Regions from separate parts of the Homo sapiens genome. Here all the other regions are linked to region 4. The links are contacts of gene promoters, found by promoter capture Hi-C in blood cells and fetal thymus (Javierre and others, 2016). All regions are on one chromosome and are shown on one strand. The core of a region is centred on a gene start or on the middle of the fragment in contact, and the rest is flanking DNA. Distances in the headings are between cores, read along the strand shown.

The links. Contacts are between HindIII fragments. The CHiCAGO score rates a contact against its expected background, and 5 or more counts as called.
Region 1: the fragment with the promoter of VAPA here is called in contact with the fragment with the promoter of MPPE1 in region 4 in 6 of 17 cell types (total CD8 T cells, total CD4 T cells, activated CD4 T cells and 3 more); the score reaches 16.4 in total CD8 T cells.
Region 2: a fragment that was not itself captured here is called in contact with the fragment with the promoter of MPPE1 in region 4 in 1 of 17 cell types (naive CD8 T cells); the score reaches 5.5 in naive CD8 T cells.
Region 3: a contact is called between a fragment that was not itself captured here and the fragment with the promoter of MPPE1 in region 4, in 1 of 17 cell types (neutrophils). The highest score is 7.0, in neutrophils.
Region 5: a contact is called between a fragment that was not itself captured here and the fragment with the promoter of MPPE1 in region 4, in 1 of 17 cell types (naive CD4 T cells). The highest score is 5.7, in naive CD4 T cells.
Region 6: a contact is called between a fragment that was not itself captured here and the fragment with the promoter of MPPE1 in region 4, in 4 of 17 cell types (total CD8 T cells, naive B cells, non-activated CD4 T cells and 1 more). The highest score is 7.3, in total CD8 T cells.

What each region holds. Positions count from the first base shown.
Region 1 is chr18:9,912,657-9,916,458 of GRCh38, reverse strand. It overlaps VAPA (VAMP associated protein A), which reads right to left and starts at 2,443. Exons shown (of 6, transcript NM_194434.3): 1 at 2,124-2,443. The coding sequence starts at 2,202. It overlaps LOC124904245 (a long non-coding RNA gene), which reads left to right and starts at 2,511. Exons shown (of 2, transcript XR_007066284.1): 1 at 2,511-2,747; 2 at 3,126-3,526. RefSeq lists an enhancer at 1,324-1,941 and silencers at 1,459-2,248, 2,459-2,508. The HindIII fragment of the contact is 3,402 bases long and covers 698-3,802 here.
Region 2 is chr18:13,731,512-13,735,241 of GRCh38, reverse strand. RNMT (RNA guanine-7 methyltransferase) reads right to left here. Exons shown (of 12, transcript NM_003799.3): 3 at 3,308-3,730; 4 at 643-778. The coding sequence starts at 3,724. Among named protein-coding and RNA genes, the nearest start is that of RNMT, 6.7 kb to the right of the region's middle. The HindIII fragment of the contact is 5,807 bases long and covers 1-3,730 here.
Region 3 is chr18:10,581,282-10,584,839 of GRCh38, reverse strand. No RefSeq gene overlaps it. Among named protein-coding and RNA genes, the nearest start is that of LINC01887, 43 kb to the left of the region's middle. The HindIII fragment of the contact is 5,125 bases long and covers 1-3,558 here.
Region 4 is chr18:11,906,628-11,910,271 of GRCh38, reverse strand. MPPE1 (metallophosphoesterase 1) reads left to right here and starts at 1,955. Exons shown (of 11, transcript NM_023075.6): 1 at 1,955-2,071. RefSeq lists a silencer at 1,163-1,562. The HindIII fragment of the contact is 5,797 bases long and covers 565-3,644 here.
Region 5 is chr18:9,952,822-9,956,644 of GRCh38, reverse strand. VAPA (VAMP associated protein A) reads right to left here. Exons shown (of 6, transcript NM_194434.3): 6 at 1-2,592. The coding sequence ends at 2,434. Among named protein-coding and RNA genes, the nearest start is that of VAPA, 41 kb to the right of the region's middle. The HindIII fragment of the contact is 9,151 bases long and covers 1-3,823 here.
Region 6 is chr18:12,944,048-12,947,992 of GRCh38, reverse strand. No RefSeq gene overlaps it. Among named protein-coding and RNA genes, the nearest start is that of SEH1L, 2.0 kb to the left of the region's middle. RefSeq lists a silencer at 1-284. The HindIII fragment of the contact is 1,374 bases long and covers 1,979-3,352 here.

The DNA of each region.
Region 1 (3,802 bases), core at 1,194-3,693, 2.0 Mb after region 4:
CCCCTGAAATGAAAAACAAGCCTTTTCCTTAAATGCTTCCTAAGGGAGGGATGGGGCACATAGAGAAAGGGCTTCTTTCCTCAGACACGGTTGTGTCTCTGTTATACCATCTACACACCTTTTCTGCTTCCCTGGCTAGTCTTATTTTTACTGGCAACACAAAAACAATGAGTTCTATAATCATAGCTGTAATTCTCCAACACCCCCAAAAAAGGAAATATATGAGTAAGTCACTGTGTAGGGCTTTTGCTTGTTTTTTAAACTTGCTTCTCCACTATTATTACTCCCTTACTATAGCAACATAACAACTTCCCTAAGGAGAAAACTTCAAACTCTGTGGACATTTCCTGGCCTAAAACTGGTTGTAAAGGCTTATAAATCCCTAATGGCAATTTACACATAGTTATCCAGTAGAGGAAATGTTCACTGTAAACACAGCCAATCAAAAGATAAAAACGAAATATTAAAAAAAAACACACCATACAGATTTACATTAAATTATCTCAAGATAATGGCTGAGTCAGGACTCTTCATAATTCCTCAAAGGTTTTCCCCCAGCTACAACTACGTAAAAATCACACAACTTACATAAACTTGCAATAAAATACATTCACTGCACCTTAAAACCAAATCCTTACCCAACAAGTAGCTCACTTACACTTCTATTCAAAGAAATTTGTAAACGCACTAAAAAGCTTGCAATGTAGTTATGCAATATTAATCTCATAATTCCAGAATATATTTTAAATTCCTAAACCTGAAGTTTTTCCTATGGAAAACAATGTAGTTGGCTTTCTCTTGGACTCAGCCTTACACAACAATAAAGGATTTAATTTTTTCTTTTAGCACTAGAATTGCTATACACCTCACAAAAATTGTTCTCATTCAACAATTGAAATACAAGACATAGACTTCCAAAACGGGACTCACTTTACACTTAACTAAAGATAGGAAGGAACCTACTTTCTATTAGATGTTCACACTCTTTCAGTATTCCTTAAAAACAAAGAAAAAAAATAAAAATCTGTACATTTTAACTCTCTTTCCTAAAGTACACTACATATTGACAAGGAAACCGACCAAAAGCCCCTGGGATTCTTCCAGGATCACCAAGTCAGACTAAAAAACTTATCACAGGCAGTACTACAAAAACCTACAAAGTTCCAGAGCTGGGTGACACCTTATCAGCCTTCTCAGGATCTGTCGGAAACCGCAAACGTAAAAGCAAAAAAGTCACACGCACTGAAGGTTTCTCAGCAGAGGAGCTCAACTAAAGGGCTAAATAAAAGCACGCGGGTGGCACACTGAAATGTCGTAGAAGGCAGGAAGCCCCGCTACTATGAACCTACAACTCTCCGTTTGCGGCTGACGCATCGCTCCTGCCCGCACGCACCTGGGTCCGTGCCAACAGCACCGGGCAGCCCTCGCCAGGCACCTCCAAGGACTCTCCACCTCCCCGGCGCGTCCTACACCTGACGGCCGAGTTCTAAACCTGGCGGAAAGGTGACAAGCGACGCCCTCCGCGGAACCCGAGGGCCGGCTGCAGCGAGCTCTCCCCGGGCCGGGGCAGGGGTCGGGGGGCGGCTCTCACTCCCAAGGGGTCCCGCGCCGTGCCCTAGCCTCCCCGCGCCGCTGACAGCCGGGAGCGGGCGACAGACGCAGCTTGCGCCACCTCCAGAGCCCACTCCCCGCCGCAGCCCAGAGCGCACGCCCTCGGGTGCCCAGCCGCCCACGCCCCGCCGAAGCACGCCGTCGGCCTCTGGGGCCAAGGACGCGGGCCCAGGCGGACCGCGGCGCGGGCGGGACCGGACGCCCAGGAGGCGCCCCCGCGGGACCGCAAGATGGCGGCGGCGGCGGCGCCAGGGCCGGGCTCCCCTCCGCCTCGCCCCGGCCGGCGCGCGCACCGCAGCGAGGGCGGGCGGGAGGGGATGAAGCGGGCCGGAGCAAGGGGCAGGCCGGCCGAGGTGGCGGCAAGAAAGCAGCCGGGAAAGGGAAGGCGCCGGGGCGTGGGGGAGGGGGCGCTCCCTCGGGCCAGGGCCGCGGACGTGCCCTCCGCGCCCCCCCGCCGACAGCCAGCGGTCCGCGCGCCCCACCCCACCCGGGGGTGTCCCCGTTCTGCCTACCTTTGAATTTGAGGTCTGTGGGCGGATCGAGGACCAGGATCTGCTCGTGCTTCGCCATGGCCCCTGAGGCGGACGCCATCGGAGAGACAGCGCAGAGCGGGGGCGCGCCCGCGGCGGCGGTTTGCTGACTGGGGGCGGGGGACGACGGCGGCGACGGCTCGGCCGAGCTCTAGGACGAGGCCAGGCTCGCGGCTCCCGAGCCCTAACGCCTGCCGCTGTGTCACCGGTTCGGTGGGCCACCCGCTGGGTCAGCAGCTCCGGGTCCCACAACTGACTCAACCCCACACCAGCCGCCACGGCCACGCGCACTTGCGAGCCTCGGCGACCCACGTGACGGCCTCTGCGTGCCTACGTGCGCGCCCCCGGCCGGGAGCTTCTAGCGCTTGTCCCGCCCTCCAGGCCGGCCTAGCGCGGCGCGGGGCTGCTGCGCCTGCGCGCTCGCGGCTTGCCGCGGCCCGGAGCGCAGCCCAGCTGTCAAGGGAACGGGTGTGGAAGGAGGCGGGGCAAAGGTCCGCGGGACCGACGCGATGCGCAGCGCAGGGCTGGAAGCGCAGTCCTCTGTCACCTTGAGCTCCGAGTACGGAACTAGAGAAACTGCTCTGGCAGCGCATCACACTCTTCCAAGTGGGAATGCCCAGTGGAAGGGACAAGTAGTAGTAGGGAAGCGCCCACTCACTACAACTCCCGGCATGCCCCCTGCGGGGCGGGGCCTTCGCCGAGGGCCTGGCCCTTTGCGGCCCTGCGCGGTGCTTGCTGGGAACTGTAGTAACGGCTGTTTGAGGGTGGAAAGGAGAGCTAGGTCTGTTGGAGGCAATGGGGTGGGGTTCGCGGACGCTAATTTTGGCTCTCAGAGCGCGTCTAGTTTGCGCTAAAAAAGAAAAAACTTGAAGACTGAAACGAGGCCCCAATGTTAGAAATATATTAATAAAATCTGCCCTGTGGAGAACAGGCGTGGGGGGATGTGTCCGTTTGCTCTAATTCTATCCAGTCCTCTGTTGGCAGGGCTGCATTCCCCGTGGTATCCAATTCAGCCTCTCCTGCTTCCTGAGTTCTCTCCAGTGATGCAAAATCAGATAAGGAAACACACCTCGTCTAGGAAGCAAGGGGAAATATGACAAAGCACACAGAAACTAGAAATAAAAGTCAAAAATCTACACCATCGAACCCAAATAATCTTCTTCAGTTTTAATGATGGACCCAAACCAAAACAGTTCTCACGTTCACATGTTAGAAACTAACTCCATCTGCATCACTTACGATAGGCTGTAGTAAACTGAACCAAATAAGAAAAATCCCAGCAGCAAACTTGCTGACAAAACTTTAGCCGATTGCCAGGGTAGTCCGGTACAGGAACGTCAAATGAAACCAATGTGCTGTAAATAAACCTTTATTGTATTTTGTGATACGGTTTGAATTTAAATCCCTAGGTAGCGCCACGAAACAAAAGACATATTGATGCTACTGCCATGGAGCAGCACAGTTTGTCTAGAAAATAAACGAGACGAAACAGCAGTCTAGAAGTAGGCACCAAATCCAAGTTTTCATGTGCGATCCAGGTATTAGGGTCCATCCAGGAACAGCCTGCTGGAATTGCTAGCCTGGCATTCACAGAAGATTGTGCCACCCACGAGGAATGTGTTTTCAGCCCTGAAATTCCTGGGAGTGAGAGGTGAAGCCAG
Region 2 (3,730 bases), core at 998-3,497, 1.8 Mb before region 4:
TTCTTTGACTGGCTTTAAAAAAATCTTTATTATGAAAAATTTTAAAACAAACCACTTTTTAAAGTTCTCTAAATTTATCTAAGAGTCTACTTAATGCACTAAATATACAGAGCAATAATTATATTCTTTTTTTTACCCTATCTTACGGTGCCGACAAGAATTGTATTCTGAATCATATTTTCTCTGTTCACTTTCATTTTAATTTCAAAGGTGAGTTTCCATAGATAAAATGTTGGCTCAAAAAAGTTGAATGTTTTTATCTATCCTCAATGTAATACACATGATCTTTATCAACTAATTGAAGGCCTAAACAAATCAAGACACTGCCTATTTCTTGACTTAATGAAACCTGAATGTTTAACCAACAATATGCAGTTGCTCCAAAACTATTAGAGTAAAATAGAATCATTACTTAATAGTACTAGGTAACCTTAATTCTGTGCATTAAAAAAAATATTGCCTTCTGAAAACCTGATTAACATAATAATTAAACACTCATTAAAATCTTACACAGTCAACCAAAAGTAAATATTAGAAGAATTTGTCTTCAAGACCTAGTCTTGGCTCTAGCTTTATAAAGTCAAGGTTTGATAATTAAATGAATAGGAATTAAAGACTCAGTAGCTTGGTGTTGGATCATACCAATGAGAACACTTTTCATCCAATTATTAAAGTTTCTTAGGTAAAAAATACGACTTTGACTACGCTTCTCCAAACCAACTTCCTGAAGTTCATTGTAATGGGCAGCCACTGTTGAGCTGTGTCCTTCTTCCAGATTCTGAAAATAAAAGAGAATAGAAAAAAATCAAGGATCAGAACATGGTAAAAATAAGCCTCAGAACATTTGACCTGTGAATGGATAAAATGCTATTAGAATTGGTAAACTTCACTAAACAATGGCAATTAACCACAGAAGTCTCACTAATTATCATTAGACCTAAGATTTGTTTTCTGTGTCCCTGTGTATCAGTCCATTTTAATGTTGCTGCTAAAGACGTACCGGAGACTGGGTAATTTATAAACAAAAAGAGGTTCAATGGACTCACAGTTCCTCGTGGCGGGGGAGGCCTCACAATCATGGTGGAAGGTGAAAGGCAGGTCTTACATGGCGGCAGGCAAGAGACAATGAGAGCCAAGTAAAAGGGGAAACCCCTTATAAAACCATCAGATCTCGTGAGACTTATTCACTACCATGAGAAAAGTATGGGGAACTGCGCCCATGATTCAATTATCTCACATCAGGTCCCTCCCACACATGTGGGAATTATGAGAGCTATAATTCAAGATGAGATCTGGGTAGGGACACACCCAAACCATATCACCTTATTTTGAAAAACATCTCTAGGTTTAAAATTTTCATTGTGATATTTCATCTGCATTAATTTTAGTGTCAATGTCTTAATAAACCCAGTACTCTTCCAGAGTTCTGATTTATTCAGTTCAATAAATGACAGTCAATGTTTGGTGTTTCTACAAAGGAATAAATTAGGAATAAGCTATAATTACATTATTATTATAAAGCTGTTGTGAAAATTAAATAAGATAATGTATATAAAGAGATTAGGCCTGGGTGAGGTGGCTCATACCTATAATCCCAGCACTGTGGGAGGCCCAGGTGGGAGGATCACTTGAAGTCAGGAGTTTGAGACCAGCCTGGCCAACATGGTGAAACCCTATCTCTACTAAAAATACAAAAATTAGCTGGGCATGGTGGTGCACACCTGTAATTCCAGCTACTCAGGAGGCTGAGGCAGGAGAATCGCTTGAACCCAGGAGGTGGAGGTTGCAGTGAGCCGAGATCGGGCCACCGCACTCCAGCATGGGCAACAGAGCGAGACTCTCAAAAAAAAAGAGAGATTAGAATTCAGTAGGCTATGTGCAGCGTTAGTGATTTCTATTATAATAATGCTATTATATATGTTACATGTAACCCAACAGTTTTCAATTTGTGCTTCCTGAGGCCCTAGAAATCCTGTAAAAATGCCATGATAGGTAAAGGGCTTCGGATCCTCCTACCTCCCTTTTCAGCCAAAGTGCTGAATCTCACTGATGTGCTGAAAGGCCTTTCAAACAAATCCTTGACCTATTTTACGTAACAGGTTTAAGTGTAAGATTTTCAGTTGAAAAAGGGGTTCTGGGGCTAGTAAAAGTTTGAAAACTATGTTTAAAATACAAGCTCCCAGCCAGGCGCAGTGGCTCATGCCTGTAATCCCAGCACTTTGGGAGGCTGAGGTGGGCAGATCACAAGGTCAGGAATTCAAGACCAGCCTGGCCAATATGGTGAAATCCCATCTGTACTAAAAAACACAAAAATTAGCCAGGCATGGTGGTGGGCACCTGTAGTCCCAGCTACTCGGGAGGCTGAGGCAGGAGAATCGCTTGAACCCGGGAGGTGGAGGTCCCGGGAGGTGGAGGTTGCAGTGAGCCGAGTTTACACCACTGCACTCTAGCCTAGGAGACAGAGTGAGACTCTGTCTCCAAAAAAAAAAAAAAAAAAAAGGGGGGGCTCCCCTCTGTTACAAGAATTCACATTCCATTGATGACAAAAGCCTCACTATCAGTCACTTTCCTCATAAGGGCCAATGGCAGAATTTTATTTACTCATTAAAGTAATCTTTTCCTCTAACTCCAGATTCTGCCTCAAATTCCTTTCTAATGTGGTACTTCCAGATGAAAACAACTTGCCCTATAATATCTTTGCTAAATATTAGGCATTTGCATTCACTTAACTAAAACAGTATGTAAAATACATTAATAAGAAGCTGAAAACTGTTTAAGGAATTACATTAATAAAGGGATGTAAAGCTAGGTATAATTTTAAAAGTTATCCCTTTAAGTGATAACCTCTGACAAAAAAACTAGAGCTGAACACCTAATAAAAAAGAAAAATAGGTAAATCATTTGGATCTCATACTCTAGTCTTTTTAAAAACGCCGGAGGACTGCTTATGCCCAGGAGGTTGTGGCTGCAGTGAGCTTTGATTACACCATCACACTCCAGCCTGGGCGACAGTGCAAGACTCTGTCTCGGAAAAAAAAGTTTCTAGTTAAATATTCTAAAATAAGATAAACATTATCTCATTAGAAAATAAAAACAAACAAAAACTAAAAAATCTATCTCATTAGCAGGAGATGTTTCACCTTAACAGAAATCATAAGAGTTAAAAGCCTACTTTGTCTTAGGACCATATCTATTAAAAATAGAACATTCTTAAGCTATTATGTAAAAACCAGTATGAATCCACGGGTGTTCCACATTTCAAACTTACATATTCTATTATGAATAAATGAAAATACACTGAACATACTTTCTGCTTTTCAGGAACATCCTCAAGTGCTATTTTTCTCTTATTTTGAGTGCCATCTCCAGTAGAAGATTTATCTTTTGGAACATCCTCAGTTTCTCTTTTTCTTTTCTTTGAATTGCCTTCAGCATCACCACAATCTTTTTCCTCTGGGACAATTTCAGGATCAAGTTTTCTCTTCTTGGATGGAGTGTCTTTCCCACAACTAGAACTTTCCTTTACAAGATCATCTTCAAACTCTTTTCTCTTTCTTGCTATGTCTACTTGCCTACAGACAGAAGTCTTTTCAGAAAGCCCAGTCCCAGAAGCTGTTGTGTTTTCATTAATATTGAATGAAGACTCTGTTTCAGAATTCACTGACGCTTTTGCCTGTTCAAGAGACATCTTTTCATATTCTTCTGCTTTTGCAGAATTTGCCATTTATGA
Region 3 (3,558 bases), core at 310-2,809, 1.3 Mb after region 4:
CTTTTATTCATAATAGCCAAGATATGGAATCAACCTAAGTGTCCATCAAAGGATAAGCGAGGAAAGTAGGATACATATGCACAACGGAATATTATTCATCCATTAAAAAGAATGAAATCTTGTCATTTGCAGCAACATGTATGAGACTGGAGGTCATTATGTTAAGTAAAACAAGCCAGACATAAAAGCCAAATATCATATTTTGTCATATGTGGGAGCTAAAAAGTGGATCTCATGGAGGTGGAGAGTAGATTGGTGGTTGCCAGAGGCTGGGAAGGGTAGAGGCGATAGGGGGATGAGGAAAGGTTGGCTAATGAGTAGAAAAACACAGAGAGAAAAAATACTATCTTCTGTTCAATATTAGAGTAGGGAAATAATAGTTAATAGTAATTTATTGTATATTTCAAAATAGCTACAAGAGAGGATTTGTAATGTTTCCAACACAAAGAAAAGATAAATGTTGGGGGTGACTGACATCCCAATTACCCTGATTTGATCATTACACATCGTATACATGTATGAAAATATCACTCTTACCCCATAAATATGTACACTTATTCCAGGTCAACTAAAAAGAAAAAGAAAAAAAAAAAGACTGGTGGTGAGTTCTAAATCTATCAACTATAAAACTAAGACTAAAGAACTAGAAAACTTTGGTGAAAAAAGAGAAGTGTTAGGAACTTTGAAAATAGAAAAATTTTAATATAACTTTTTTTTTTTGAGACAGAGTCTCCCTCTGTTGCCCAGGCTGGAGTGCAGTGGTGCGATCTCGGCTCACTGCAAGCTCTGCCTCCTGGGTTCACACCATTTTTTTTTTTGTATTTTCAGTAGAGATGGGGTTTCACCGTGTTAGCCAGGATGGTCTTGATCTCCTGACTTCGTGATCCGCCTGCCTCGGCCTCCCAAAGTGCTGGGATTACAGGCATGATTATATAACTTTTTAAAAGTCAGGACATTTTAAGAAAAACTATTCAAGGACCCAAGATTGTACCAATTGCCCCATATTTCAGAGCTGAGAATCAACAGAAAATGCCTAAAAATGCTTAAAATAGTTAGAAATACAAGCATAAACAATCCTTTTTAAATTTGAGAAGAATCTTACAGAAATGAATACCTCTGATGAAGAAACATTTATCTGAATTTCAACAATTATTTCATTTTTTTCTTTTATTAAATTCAATGGCGATTGTTATAACTTTATTTTTAATTAGTAAACAGAATCCTATATAATAATGTGTTTATCTATTGACCCTTTCACCAGTATCCACACGGAAAGGAGACTGGAGTGATAGTCACAAAGGTAACGTTTATTTCTGAATAATAAAATTTGAATGAATTTTTTTTCCTTTGCACTTTTTGGGTTGCTTGATGTTCTTTTCTTTTCAAATGAACAAAAATTAAAGAATTTCCACAAAACAACAACTAAAAAGAAATATTTACTAAACCAGTTATTTTGTGTGAGACATTATGTGTGGTTAAGAACTGTGGAACTCTGCATGGACTTCTAGTTGGAAAGGCAACATTGATGGGGATGGGAATTATGATGATGGAATTACAGAGAGATAAATAGGTGATACACAGTAAAGATACGTGATGGACAAAAAGCTAAGCAGCCAATTAGATAAGGAAATACAGAATGTCACAGGGATACTGGGCCAGAACACCTTGCATCTATATCTGTATTATTCATTGATTTGTTCAGTAAGGAAAATAAAAGCAGAAAGATTTCTTGGCAGTAACTGTATCCTCTAACTCACCAACTGAGCAGTAAAATATCCCTCCTCAGTGCTATTATTAAAATGTTTCTCTAATTTCTTCATCTATAATACCAGGAACCTAACGTTATGCTAATTTTCAGATTATTGTTTTGATAAAGAGGATTTTATTTTCAGATTGTAATATCTACACATTGAAGGGGAGACAGCTGTTGATCTTTTAGCTTAGGCACACAGGCATAAAAGGAAGGCTGGTTTCTCAGGTCAAGAGGCCATCGCCACCATTCACCTGGTGAAAGGAAGCTGAGCCAGGGAGGAGGGCCACAGTGTGGGTGATGAGGGGCACCTCACTTTCAAGGGGCCCCATGACACTCCCGGCTGCTGTAGTGTTCATTCTGGTGTGCACGTGCTCAGGAAGTCAAAGAAATAAAATCAGTAATTTTTTTTCATGCTTCATCTCGTATGTGTTCAACTCTACCCCTTAAATTTTGAGTTGTTCGAAATAAAGAGCCTTCCCTCATGTATGCATGGGAAGAAAATATCCTCTCCCAGGCCCCATGCACAGTCCCGCTCACTCTTCTGCGAGCAGTGAGAGCTGCGGGCAATATAACACTGAAAATTGTCCTTAGTCTCTATGTATTTGTTTCTCTGATCCGAATAAGCAAGCAAAAGCCCACAGGCCATGCGAAAATCCCTCCCAGGGAATGTGCAGTGATGGCTGCCTCTTCCCAAGCCCTGCCTTCTTCCTCTGTGAACACAGAAACCATACAGATGTGGACACACAACCGGAAATGCCACCCCATCAAAATGGAAAACTAAGTGGATAAATTGTTGAAAAGCCAACTTACAGACTCTGAGGAATGCTGGATTGAAAGCACATTTGTCTTCTGTTTCTTTTTTCTTTTTCTTTTTTTTTTTTTGAGATGGAGTCTCACTCTTGTTGTGCAATGGTGCGATCTCTGCTCACTGCAACCTCTGCCTCCCAGGGTCAAGTGGTTCTCCTGCCTCAGCCTCCCAAGTATCTGGAATTACAGGCACGTGCCGCCATGCCCAGCTAATTTTTGTATTTTTAGTAGAGACAGGGTTTCACCATGTTGGCCAGGCTGGTCTCGAACTCCTGACCTCCAGTGATCCACCCGCCTTGCACTCCCAAAGTGCTGAGATTACAGGTGTGAGCCACCATGCTTGGCCTCATCTTCTATTTCTTCAGCATTTTTCTGTGGAATTTTGGAAAAGACAAAGTCCATTCCCAGGAAGGAGCATGACCACAGAATGGAGAGCAGAATTACCAGAAAGACAAAGCAATACAAGTTGCATAAACAAATGGATATATTTGCTTTTTCCCCTGTAACAGGAAGTTTGAGTGTAGTTAGAAATGAACTGACACAGCGGCTTAAAAACATTATGAAGTTCTGCTGTAAATTTTTTTTTTTTTTTGAGACGGAGTTTCACTCTTGTCGCCAGGCTGGAGTGCAATGGTGCAATCTTAGCTCACTGCAACCTCCGCCTCCCGGACTCAAGTGATTCTCCTGCCTCAGCCTCCCAAGTAGCTGGGATTACAGGTGTGTGCCACCACACCCAGCTAATTTTGTATTTTTTTTTAGTAGAGACTGGGTTTCACCATGTTGGTCAGGCTGGTCTCAAACTCCTGACCTCAAGTGATCCATCCGCCTCAACCTCCCAAAATGCTGGAATTATAGGCATGAGCCAACCTGCCCAGCTGCTGTAACATTCTTAAAAACGTTGACATGTTGCCCTATGAATGTAAGACACAGGCTAGGCCTTCAGACACTTCCAGGGTCAAGACTGGGAGACAGCTGAAAGGGAGGGAAGCAAGGAGCTT
Region 4 (3,644 bases), core at 706-3,205:
GGCACCTGCCACTACACCCGGCTAATTTTTTTTTTTTTTTTTTTTTTTTTAGTAGAGACGGGGTTTCACCGTGTTAGCCAGGATGGTCTTGATCTCCTGACCTCCTGATCTGCCCGCCTCGGCCTCCCAAAGTGCTGGCATTACAGGCAAGAACCACCGCGCCTGGCCGCCAATGTTTTTAAAAATGCCATTTATTTATGTAAAAGTTTGTTTGTCTTAATCATGACCCAAACAAGGTCCACAAATTGCATTTGGCTAATGTGTCTCTCAAGGTCCCCCCACCCTCTTTTTTTTAAAGACATGGGGGGTCTAGCTGTGTTGCCCAGCCTGGAGTGCAGTGGCTATTCACAGCTGTGATCATAGCTCACTACAGCCTTGAACTCTGGCCTTAAGCAATCCTCCCACTTCAGCCTCTGAACATTTATTTTTGAAAAAAGAAATTGGGTCATTTGGTTTGTAGAATTTCCCACATTCTGGATTTGGCAGATTACTTCCTGGTGGTGTAATCTAATGGGTTCATTTGGCCCCTGTATTTCCTTTAGCCTGTGATTAGTGTTATAAGCTTAACTGGTTCTAGTTTCCCTTTCTTTGTTAGTCAGAGAGAATACTTTAGAGGTGAGGCTGCAAACAATCCACGGTGCCATATTAGTGTGTTTATGGAATCAGGCTGTCCCAGTTTCGATTATGTCAAAGTTGTTCACCTGATCATATCTGAAGATATTACAATATTCTTAATAATAATAACCATTTACCGCATACTTATTGTATACCAGGCATTTTGCTGGCTGTGTCCTATATAATTCCTCAAACCACATCTCCGTGTATTAACCACACTCATAGATTTGTGAAAATGTACCAGAATTGACTGGTTGGAAGGCTCTATGTGGATTATTACTCTGAGCATGTTTACTTCTTGAAATATGAAATAATGGCTCCTGCTTTTAATATACAGGCTTATTTTGAGGATTTTTTGAACGGATGTGAGAGCACTTAGAAAACTGGAACGCGCCGCGCTACACCATTAAAATTAGTAACATCAGTGAGAAAAAAGCAAGTGCATAATAAATATTATAGTTATCCTGATTGTCTCCTTTATTCATCACACACTTCCTAAGCACATCTCTGGAGGGCACTTTCCAAGGCTCCGGGGGAGGAGAGGAAAGAGGCGCAGCCAGGCCTGGTGGGTCCCGGAGGGGCAGCGCGGCGCGGGAGGGGAACGGGGAGGCACGGCCTGGCTGCCACCGCGCGCGGAACCCGGGAGCGGCTCCGGGGCTGTCAGCTGCCCGCCTGGCTCCTCCAAGGCCTGGAGCTCGGACGCGGGCTCTGGGGGCTTCTGGGGCGCGGAAGCGGGCTCGCGGGGAGCAGTGGCCGCCCCCGGCCGCCGCGGTGGCTGTGCTCAGAAGCCGGCCCTGGCGTCAGGAGGCCGGGCGCGCGGCGCGGGGCGCGAGTTCCCCTGCCCGCCTGTGCGCCCCGCAACGGGCCTTTCCTGGGCCCTAACGACAGCTCGCCCGTGCTTCGCCCTCGCAGCTCTCCTGTGTCCCCAAAATGCCTTTCCCGCGTCCCCCGCCCTTCAGCGGTGACTGCCCAGGGGACTCTGTAACGCGACACTCAGACTGCCGAGCCTGCCAGGCACTTCGCGGAGGGCGCTAGGGGCCGGGACGCGGCCGCCGAGCGTAGGTTCCGGCCTTTACTCCGAGTTGCGCACGGAGCCCCAGCTGCGGTTGTCCGCTCTGGGGATCACAGGCCGCGGAGACCCGGGAGCCACCCGCCGGGCCCCTTCAGACGACCCGCTTCCGCAAACCGGCCGTGGGACTCCGGCGCCGGGCGGACGAAGCGGCTCCGGGAAGACTCGGTCTTCCCCGCCCGCCTGAGGTCGCCGGGGCGGGGCTTCAGTGACAGGCCCGCGCGCTACCGCGGAAACAGGAAGTTGGCTGGGTGCGCGCCGGCTCCGGCTGCAGTTCCCGGGTCCCTCGGCCACCGAAGCCACCCTGCCCTGGTGAAAGGGCTCCCGCACCGCCCGGTGCTCCCCATCTGCCTGGCGTTGTGCGCAGAGCTGGAAAGCATGGCTGTTGTATGTATTCTTGCGCCCGTGTGACAACATTTAAACTTCTAAAAACGGAACCTCCTTCCGTGTTAGGATTGCAAGTTAACCTAGGAAAAACAGCATTCTGCAAATTATTTGCTGGAAAATCTCGGTGACTTAAGGCCCATGTATTACTTTGCAGGGGTCTCTCACTCTAGTTTGCTGGTGTAGATTTTTTAAAAAATCCATCTTATCAAAAAATACCGTTTAAGGTGGAAAATTTCAAATGCAAGTCGCAGTTGATGAGATTGCAATTAATATATTTAAGATAGTGAATTAGAGAAAAACTACAGGTCAGTGCATATTAAGTATTTTTTTCATATTTTGGGGGGATTAGATTTTTAACGATAACTTTGAAGTTAAAAATTAAAAGATAGGCTGGGTGCCGTTGCTTAGGCCTGTAATTCCAGCACTCTGGGACGCTGAAGTGGGAGGATGGCTTGATCCCAGAGATGCGAGACCAGCCTGGGCAACATAGCAAGTCCCCCGCCCCCACCATAACAACAAAAGTACCAAAAAAAAAAAAAAAAAAAGCCAGGTGTAGTGGCACGCACCTGAAGTCCCTGCTACTCGAGAAGTTGTGGGGGAAAGGATCGCTTCAGCGCAGGAGTTTGGGGCTGCAGCGAGCTGTGACGCAGCCTGCGGTTGACAAAAAGTCAAAACTCTATAAAATATTTGAAGGGATTAATTCTGAGCCAAATATGAGTGACCATGGCTGGTGACACAGCCATTTGGAGACCCTGAGAACGCGTACGCAAGGTGGTCGGGGCCCAGTGTGGTTTTATGCATTTTAGGGGAGCCATGAGTCATCAGTCAAATACATGTAAGATTAAGATGTACATTGGTTCGGTCCATAAAGGTATGACAGCTGAGGAGGTGGGTGGGTCGGGGGTTTCCGGGTTATAGGTAGATTGAAAATTTTCTGATTGGCATTTGGTTGAAAGATTTATTATCAATGGAAAGGAATGTTTGGGTTACAATAAGAGGCTGTGGAGACTGAAGTTTTATCATGCAGATGAAGCCTCCAGGTAAGTTAAGTGTCCAGCATGTTAAATGCTGGTCTGCTTTTCCTGAATTCTAAAAGGGAGGAGGATGAAATGTGTCAAGTTCCACCCCCACTTCCCATCATGGCCTAAACAAGTTTTGCTTAAAACAACCTAAAACAAGGTTAACTCTGGAATGCCCTTGGTGGGGTCCATGCAGATGGTTGAGGGGTCTTAGGATTTCATTTTTGATTTACAATGGGCGGTGGAGTGAGACCCTATCTCTAAAAATAAATAAATAAATAAATACAAATTGAAAAGTTCAAAGATAAATTTTTTTTTTTTTTTTTTGAGACGGAGTTTCGCTCTTGTTGCCCAGGCTGGAGTGCAATGGCGCGATCTCGGCTCACTACAACCTCCGCCTCCCGCATTCAAGCGATTCTCCTGCCTCAGCCTCCCGAGTAGCTGGGATTACAGGCATGTGCCACTACCCTGGCTGATTTTGTATTTTTAGTAGAGACGGGGTTTCTCCATGTTGGTCAGGCTGGTCTTGAACTCCCGACCTCAGGTGATCACCC
Region 5 (3,823 bases), core at 1,193-3,692, 2.0 Mb after region 4:
AAAATAATCTGATCACATTTCATACAGCAATTAAAAATAACAGAAACAGAGTCTCACCTATACAATCAGAGCATCTCCTGATATGAACAACAGTTAAGCCCACATACATTTTAAAGATGCTACCCAGACTACAATCTATCTCAAAAGCAACCATGGCATAATGCATTTTATAAAATGCCTACCTAAAAATACATTGTATTTTGTAATGTTTATTACCAATGTGGGAGGCATTTCTAGCCTAAACACTATAACCAAACTATTCAACAGTAAGCCGGTAGTAGTCTTACAATAAGAAATTTCACATATACTTGTTATTATAAATAGCATTTTATGTTCATTATTTCAGCCATCTCTCAAACTAAGACAATTTTCAACAGTTACCAGAAGACACTGAGCTAGAGTCAACAGACCAGATATCTAGTTCCAGCTCTGCCTCTACCTACCTGTGAGACACGGGGAAAGTTCTCTTAACCTTCGTAAGGCCTCAGATTTCTCAACCATAGAACAAAGGGGCTGAACAAAATGAATTCTAAAGAGCATTCCCATAAAACGGGATTTGGCTAAATTTTCAAGAACTTAATTTCTTTAAAAAAAGATAGCTATGAGATACCAAACTTGGTATTTACCACCAATAATATTGATTATATAAGAGCTTTAAGCCAAGGAATTACTGATTCTGCATTTATGGGGTGAAAATATAAGACTATTTTTAGCATGCTTTTCCAGTTACCAGAAAAGGGGAGAGGGGGATTTTTACAAAGACAGTAAAGCATACAGCAATGGCAGTAAAGCATGCAGCATAGCATGCTAGTAATGGATAGGCATTACTTGTGTTTCCTTTTAGGAACTTTTGCACACAAGCAAGAGGTTTTATAAAAGATACCACAGCGCCCAATAACACAATATATGTGTGATCTGACAAATTCAAAACACAGTTGAAATGAAAAGGCAACCAAAATACTTCAGAGTACTTCATTCTTCTATAAAATGTGTACACAGACCTGGGCCTAAAATACTTCACTGCACCACATCCAGTTCTAAAATCCAATTTCCTTTTCAGGTAGAGCGCATCTTTTAAAAAAAGAGCCAACACACCTATGTTTAAGAATAAAAATTCACTTGTACTAGATTGTATGTAGCTAAACACTGGATCTATTTTCTGATTCCAAAATTTTCTATCCTAGTATGAATAAATGAAGAATAGGACAAACCTAAGTGCAGGAAAGTATCAAACCCTGTAACGCATACTTATACTGAAAATGTGTTTCACATGGTTAACATTTGCAAAGGCTAAAATCATTTTTCATAAAGAAAATTCCACAGGCTTGCTCAGTATTACCAAACTTCCATAATGAACATTATTTTGAGTGCCAAATTGAGCACGAAAAAAACACCTACTTTTAACTATTATGAAATATTATGAAAAGTAGTAAGACTTATTTATTAGGCTGGTTAAAAAGTAATTTAAAACCAAAGAGAGTTAAATCTTCCTTGAGAACATACTCTCAGAACTTAAGAATGGGGTAAATCAGATGGAGCACAGCCATGCTGTACACATCAACTCACTGAAATCACATAACTTCTATTCTCATGGACCTTATTTTCTATTATCTTGAAAACAAACTGATTATAATCTCCCAAAATACCAGTGGTACCTTAAAATTTAATCAACTCCTTTCCTTAACAGAATTAGGACTTTCAATTAAAAATACTGTAATATCCAAGAGGGTTTCAATGCAAGAGAAACCTTTGCATCATAATTTCAAGTGACCATATATAGTGGAGTTCCCTCTAATAACACGACAGACACAAACAAGCTATCGAGCAAGAATCTGTTAACAGTTTTATTTTTTTTTATGTTAAATACCATGGGACAGGATTGTAAGGATGAAAAACTCAGTCAACAACTGCCTCACAAGGGATAAGAAAAATTCTGCCATGATATTAGCAAAGGTAAAGGAGGAAAAATTTACACTGTAAGAGGCACCATTTCCCCAAGGAATACCTCTTGGCATTTCCTGAATGAGTGGGATTAGCAATCTAAATAAATCATATTTCAAGAGGTAACAGCAACAGATAAAATTTAAAGGGATTATTAAAATAACATTTACAAGACTCTGAACAATTCTTGAACTCTTATTAAAACCACAAAGAAAGAACAATTCTTTATTTATGAATTTCATAAAGGACTCAATGTGCAACTGACATCTGCTAGTGATGATCTGGTAATATACAACCTGTCCAGTAGCCGAACAGTTTGTTTTTATTGTGTTTTCTAACCGTAAGAGATCATTAAAGGCAAAGCCTATATGACGCTGTACACACAAAAAAATGGTCACCGTGGGCCATACTACCAATGAAATGGTAGGTAAACAAATCTTTTTCTGGTCAAGAGAAAAAAAAAAAAAGAAACAGCACTCTGCATGCTTCACTCTACAAGATGAATTTCCCTAGAAAGAATCCAATGAAAATGGCTGCAATTACAACAAGAAGTGAAGGAAGAGGACTGGTGACATTATCTCTGAAGGATGCAGTTGAGGTTGATCCAGGTTTATCCGAATGTGCTACCTTTCTGAGCCTTAAACCTTCATCCTAGAAAAAAAACACACACACAAAAGGTTTTTAAAAACAAGCATACTAACGAGACTACTGGAGCTAAAAATCTATAGGGACGGAAAGTAGATTAGTGGTTGCCTATGGCTGGGGACGGAAAAGGGGATTAACTGCTAACCACATAAGGAAACTTTCCGGGGGTGATAGACATTCTAAAACTGAACTATAGTGATGGTTACAAAGTTCTATGTATCAATGAATTGTACACTCACAGTGGGTGTCTCCATGGGATATAAATTATACCTCAATAACACTGATTTTTTAAAACTGGAGCTGAGAAATGTATTCCTAAAAAGCAAAAGTTAGATAGGCTATATTTACCTTTTTTTAAATCCCACTAAAAATATAATTAAAGAAGAGTACTTCCAAGGTGGCCCATGGTATTTAAAATCAGTTACATCCGTCCTAGCCCAATCAGCCAAAAACTACCCAGACCTGTAGTCTGCCATTTGGGTTTACTGACACACTGCAACTAAGGAACCGGAACAGCAGAGGCACAAAAGGGTGTTCTTGCCGTAAACAGAGATATGGTATCACAGAATTTGGGGGAAGGAAACAGTTTAGCGTGAAATTTAAGTAACAGTGTTTTTATATGCTCAAAGCAAAGCAGAGGGCTGTGTGTAAAGTGGTAGCACCAGGTCTCGACTGCAAAGCAGAGAAAGAATACTGTTTCTTCAGAAACTACAAATTTAGATGAGAAATGTACATAGGAAACCCTTATCTGAAGCTCTGCACCTGGACTGGAAAATGAGGGTGCTTCTCTGTGTCAAAATGACTTAGATCCTCCAGTCAAGAGTAGGCTGCTTCATTCTTGCTGATATGGCTTCACACAGCACTATGTCTTTAGAGCAGAAGGTTTCTCAGAAGAAAGCAGAAGTCACTCCAAGCAGGAGGTTGTTATGACACTGTGTGCAATGTGAACCTTGGGAAAAATACTAATACCTGTTAACTACACAGTTGTCTTTATCTCTGTCTGTTAACCAATCTGATAAATGGCAGGACAGTTTTTTACTTTTTTCAGTACAAGGCAATATTTTCTCCCATGATTCCTTTATTGTGCTTATAAATAAACACTAACTAAAAGAGTACACCTAATGGCACAGTTTTATTTGCATTACTGGATTTTCTGGAGTTGGGTTTTTTTGGTCTCATGCTAATTAGTCCTATATAAACAGTAATTCTCAGTTTCAGCTACACATCACAAACATCT
Region 6 (3,945 bases), core at 1,416-3,915, 1.0 Mb before region 4:
CCCCTGCCTATCAAGCCCCGCCCACACACCCTCCGGTCCTTCAAGCCCCGCCCCACCCACCGGCCCGTCAGGCCCCACACAGTCCCCTGGCCCCTCAAGCCCTGCCCACGCCCCGGCCCGTCATGACTCGCCCCACCTTCCGGTCCCTCAAGCCCCGCCCCGCCCCCAGGCCCGTCAAGCCCCGCCTACCCTCCCACCAGAGCCGTCATGCCTCGCCCCACCCTCCCGCCCCCTCAAGCCCCGCCCTGTTCCCGGCTCGTCAATCCTCGTCCCGCCCCCGGCCCGTCATGCCCTACGATCCTGGTGCGGGTTCCTCCAGGCTCTGACCGTTCGGCGGCGGAGGGTGCTCTGCAAAAGGCGAGTTACCTGTGCTGAGAAGTAGTAAGAGCTTATTGGTATACTGTGCAAATGAAGAAAGATGAAAAAGTGAAGACTGCCTCTCACGGTCCTCGGCCCTGAATCATTTAAGTCGACGTTTGGATGTGTTTCCCCCCAGACACATGCGAGGCGCGCGGAGCAGGTGGAGAAGACGAACCGTGGGTTTGGTCAGGAGCCGCGCTCCGTCGGGACGGCTGAAGAGCAGGGAGGGCCGGGGAGACGCCTGAGGGGATGACAAGCAGTCCAGGCTCGGCAGCCTAAGAGCGAAGGCTGGACGGGGAGGAAAGGATCAGAAGTAGTAGTTTAAATGTGTCAAGATTTTACAGGTAGAACAGGCCTGGGGGTGCTAGGAGCCACCACGGGGGTAGGGAAATAGTATGAATTAGAAGAGTCCGCCTGTAGAAACGTGTCATCCCGGGGGAAGGAAGCGGCCGGGGAAGTGGGCTGCTTGCTACCCGGGAGCCAGAGTCCTCCGGGGAAAAGGAAGTGAAGAGGGCCAGAGCCCCTGGGAAGAGGCCTGGCTCAGATCAAGGATTCTGCCAAAACCGGAAAGTGGAGGAGCCAACGACTCGGGGGGTTTTGCTTATCAGGAAAAGGCATTCTAGAGGGCGTAGTGGTAAAGTTAGGATGGGAGACAGTGGAAGCTTGCGTCAGGGGAGCGAAAGTACAGAAAAAAAAAAAATGAGGCTGCAGAAGGGACTTGCCCTTTGGATTTTGGCCAGGAATGACAAAAATGTGAGGTATGGTAAAATTAGCAGGCTGGAAAGTTTTTTAAATGATTAGTCCCAGCTGTCCCCTGATGGATTGCACAGAAACCTGCAAAGAGAAGTGGCGCAATGACCTGACCTTTTTCAACCATAAATAAGATTTTATTGCTACTTTAAGAGGTGGGCCCCACCTCTTATGATAACTGATAACAACTATAACTTTTTTGAAGGTCAAAGACACTCATTTCCAAAGAAAGTGCTCACTATAAAAGTCCAATCAAAATATATTGATTATTATAAAAATATCAAAACAGTTTAAAAATTGTTTTAATTAAATTTAAATACAGACAGTAAACAGATCATTGGTTGCCAGAGATTATCAGAGTGGGAGTGAAGTGTTGAATTAGGTGAAACAGTGGATTTTTTAAAATAGACTTTAGTTTTTAGAACACTTTCAGGTTCACAGCAAAATTGAGCAGAAAATAGAGTTCCCGTATGTACCCCTACTGTCACACATGCACAGCATCCTCCACTGTCAACATCCCATACCAAAGTGGTACCTTTGTTATGATCAGTGAACCTACATTGACACATCATTATCACCCAAAATTCAGAGTTTGCATTAGGGTTCACTCTTGGTGTTTTATTCTGTGGGTTTTGGCAAATATATAATGACATGGATCCACCATTATAGTATCACGCGGAATAGTTTGACTGCCCTGAAAATCCTTAGTGCTCCTGTTCATCCCTTTCTTCCGACAACACCTGGCAACCGCTGATCTTTCCACTGACTGCATGGTTTTGACTTTTCCAGAATGGCATATAATGGGAATCTTGGAGTGGCTAGCCTTTTCAGATTGGCTTCTTTCCTTATAGTAATATGCATTTAAGCTTTCTCCATGTCTTGTCTTGAGAGTTCATTTCTTTTTAGTGCTGAATAATATTCCATTGTCAGGCTGTAACAGTGTTTATTCATTCCCCAACTAAAGGGCATTCTGGTTGTTTCTGTGTTTGGGCAATTATCAATAAAGCTCCTACAAACATCTGTGTACAGGTTTTTGTGTGGACATGTTCGCAACTCCTTTGGGTAGATACCAAGAAGCATGATTGCTGGATCATATTGTAAGAGTAAGTTTAGTTTTGTTTTTTGGGGTTTTGTTTTGTTTTTTGAGACAGGGTCTCACTCTGTCATGGCAGACAATCGTGGCTCACTGCAGCTTTAAATTCCCTGGGTTCAGATGATCCTCCCACCTCAGCCTCCCGAGCAGCTGGGACTACAGGCACAGTGCCACCACACCCAGCTAATTTTTCTGTTTTTTGCAGAGATGGGGTTTCACCATGTTGAGCAGGCTGGTCTCAAACTCTTGGGCTCAAGCGATCCTCTTGCCTTGGCCTCCCAAAGTGCTTGGATTACAGGCATGAGCCACTGTGCCTGGCCTGGTTTTATAAGAAACTTACAAACTGTCTTCCAAAGTGGTCGTGTCAGCCAGGCCTGGTGGCTAAATTACCCTGTAATCCAGCACTTTGGGAGGCCGAGACGGGCAGATTATCTGAGCTCAGGAGTTCAAGACCAGCCTGGGCAACGTGGCGAGACCCGCTTCTCTACTAAAAATACAAAATAAAAATACAAAAAAATGCCCCAGGAGTGGTGGTGGAACCGAGATTGTGCCACAGGACTCCATCCTGGGCAACGCAGGGAGACACTATCTCAAAAAAAAAAAAAAAAGAGAGAGAGAATTTAACACAGGAAACTGGTTACATATATATCCAAGGGGTTAATTAAGAGCAAAAAGGGAACATGTGAGATTACCCAGAGACTAGTAACTACGGGAAACTCTGGGCTGGGAGCGTGAAAGGGAAAATAGTTTTACCCAGTGCTACCATCATTGACTCTGAGGCTGCTGACATTGGCACCTTTACCACCAGCAGGCAGAAAGCCAGGAGCCAATACTCCAGCTTACACTGCAGGCGTCCAACAGAGTAACAGCCATGGGAGCCCACAAGCTCTGAACAGCTGAGGTTCCTGGAGCCTCTGCTAGTACTGCTGGAGCTAGGGCTGAGTGCTGCTGCTACTGCTGCTGTTCACATCACCCCCGAGCAGGAAGCCAGGCTCACCCATTGCCACCACCACCACTACTCAGCTATGTGAGCTGCCTCCACAAATTGGAGAAAAGGTCTTCTTCCTCCTGCATCTGAATCCCCTACTGTCTCTCAATTCAGAACCTAACTAGAAATAGAGAGCTAATAAGAGTCTGGAAAAACAAGCTTGGAGGTTTCCAGTTCATATTCTGGAAAGAATACGACCTACAGTGAAGGCTGGGCGTGGCAGCTCACACCTGTAATCCCAACATTTTGGGAGGCTGAGGCGGGCAGATCACTTGAGGTCAGGAGTTCAAGACCAGCCTGGCCAACATGGTGAAACCCCGTTTCTACTAAAAATACAAAAATTAGCTGGGCGTGTTGGTGAGCGCCTGTAATCTCAGCTACTCAGGAGGCTGAGGCAGGAGAATCGCTCTAACCCTGGAGGCAGAGGTTGCAGTAAGCTGAGATTGCACCGCTGCACTCCAGCCTGGGCAACAGAGCGAGACTCCATCTCAAAAATATAAATAAATAAATAACCTACAATGAGTTAAGAAGCTTTCACATTTTTTTTCCTGCTCTGCGCCAGTTTAAATAGCATAGGAACTGAAAGATTCCTATGAAGATTTTGTAGAAGATTCCGTGAAGATTTTGTAGATGACGTTCACAAAATTTTATCAGCCTCATGCCTTGGGTGATGATAGGTATAGTTAATTTTAACTACCTTTTAAAATTATTTTATTCATGGCCTCTTCAGATTTTTTACCTTTTGTCAAGACAA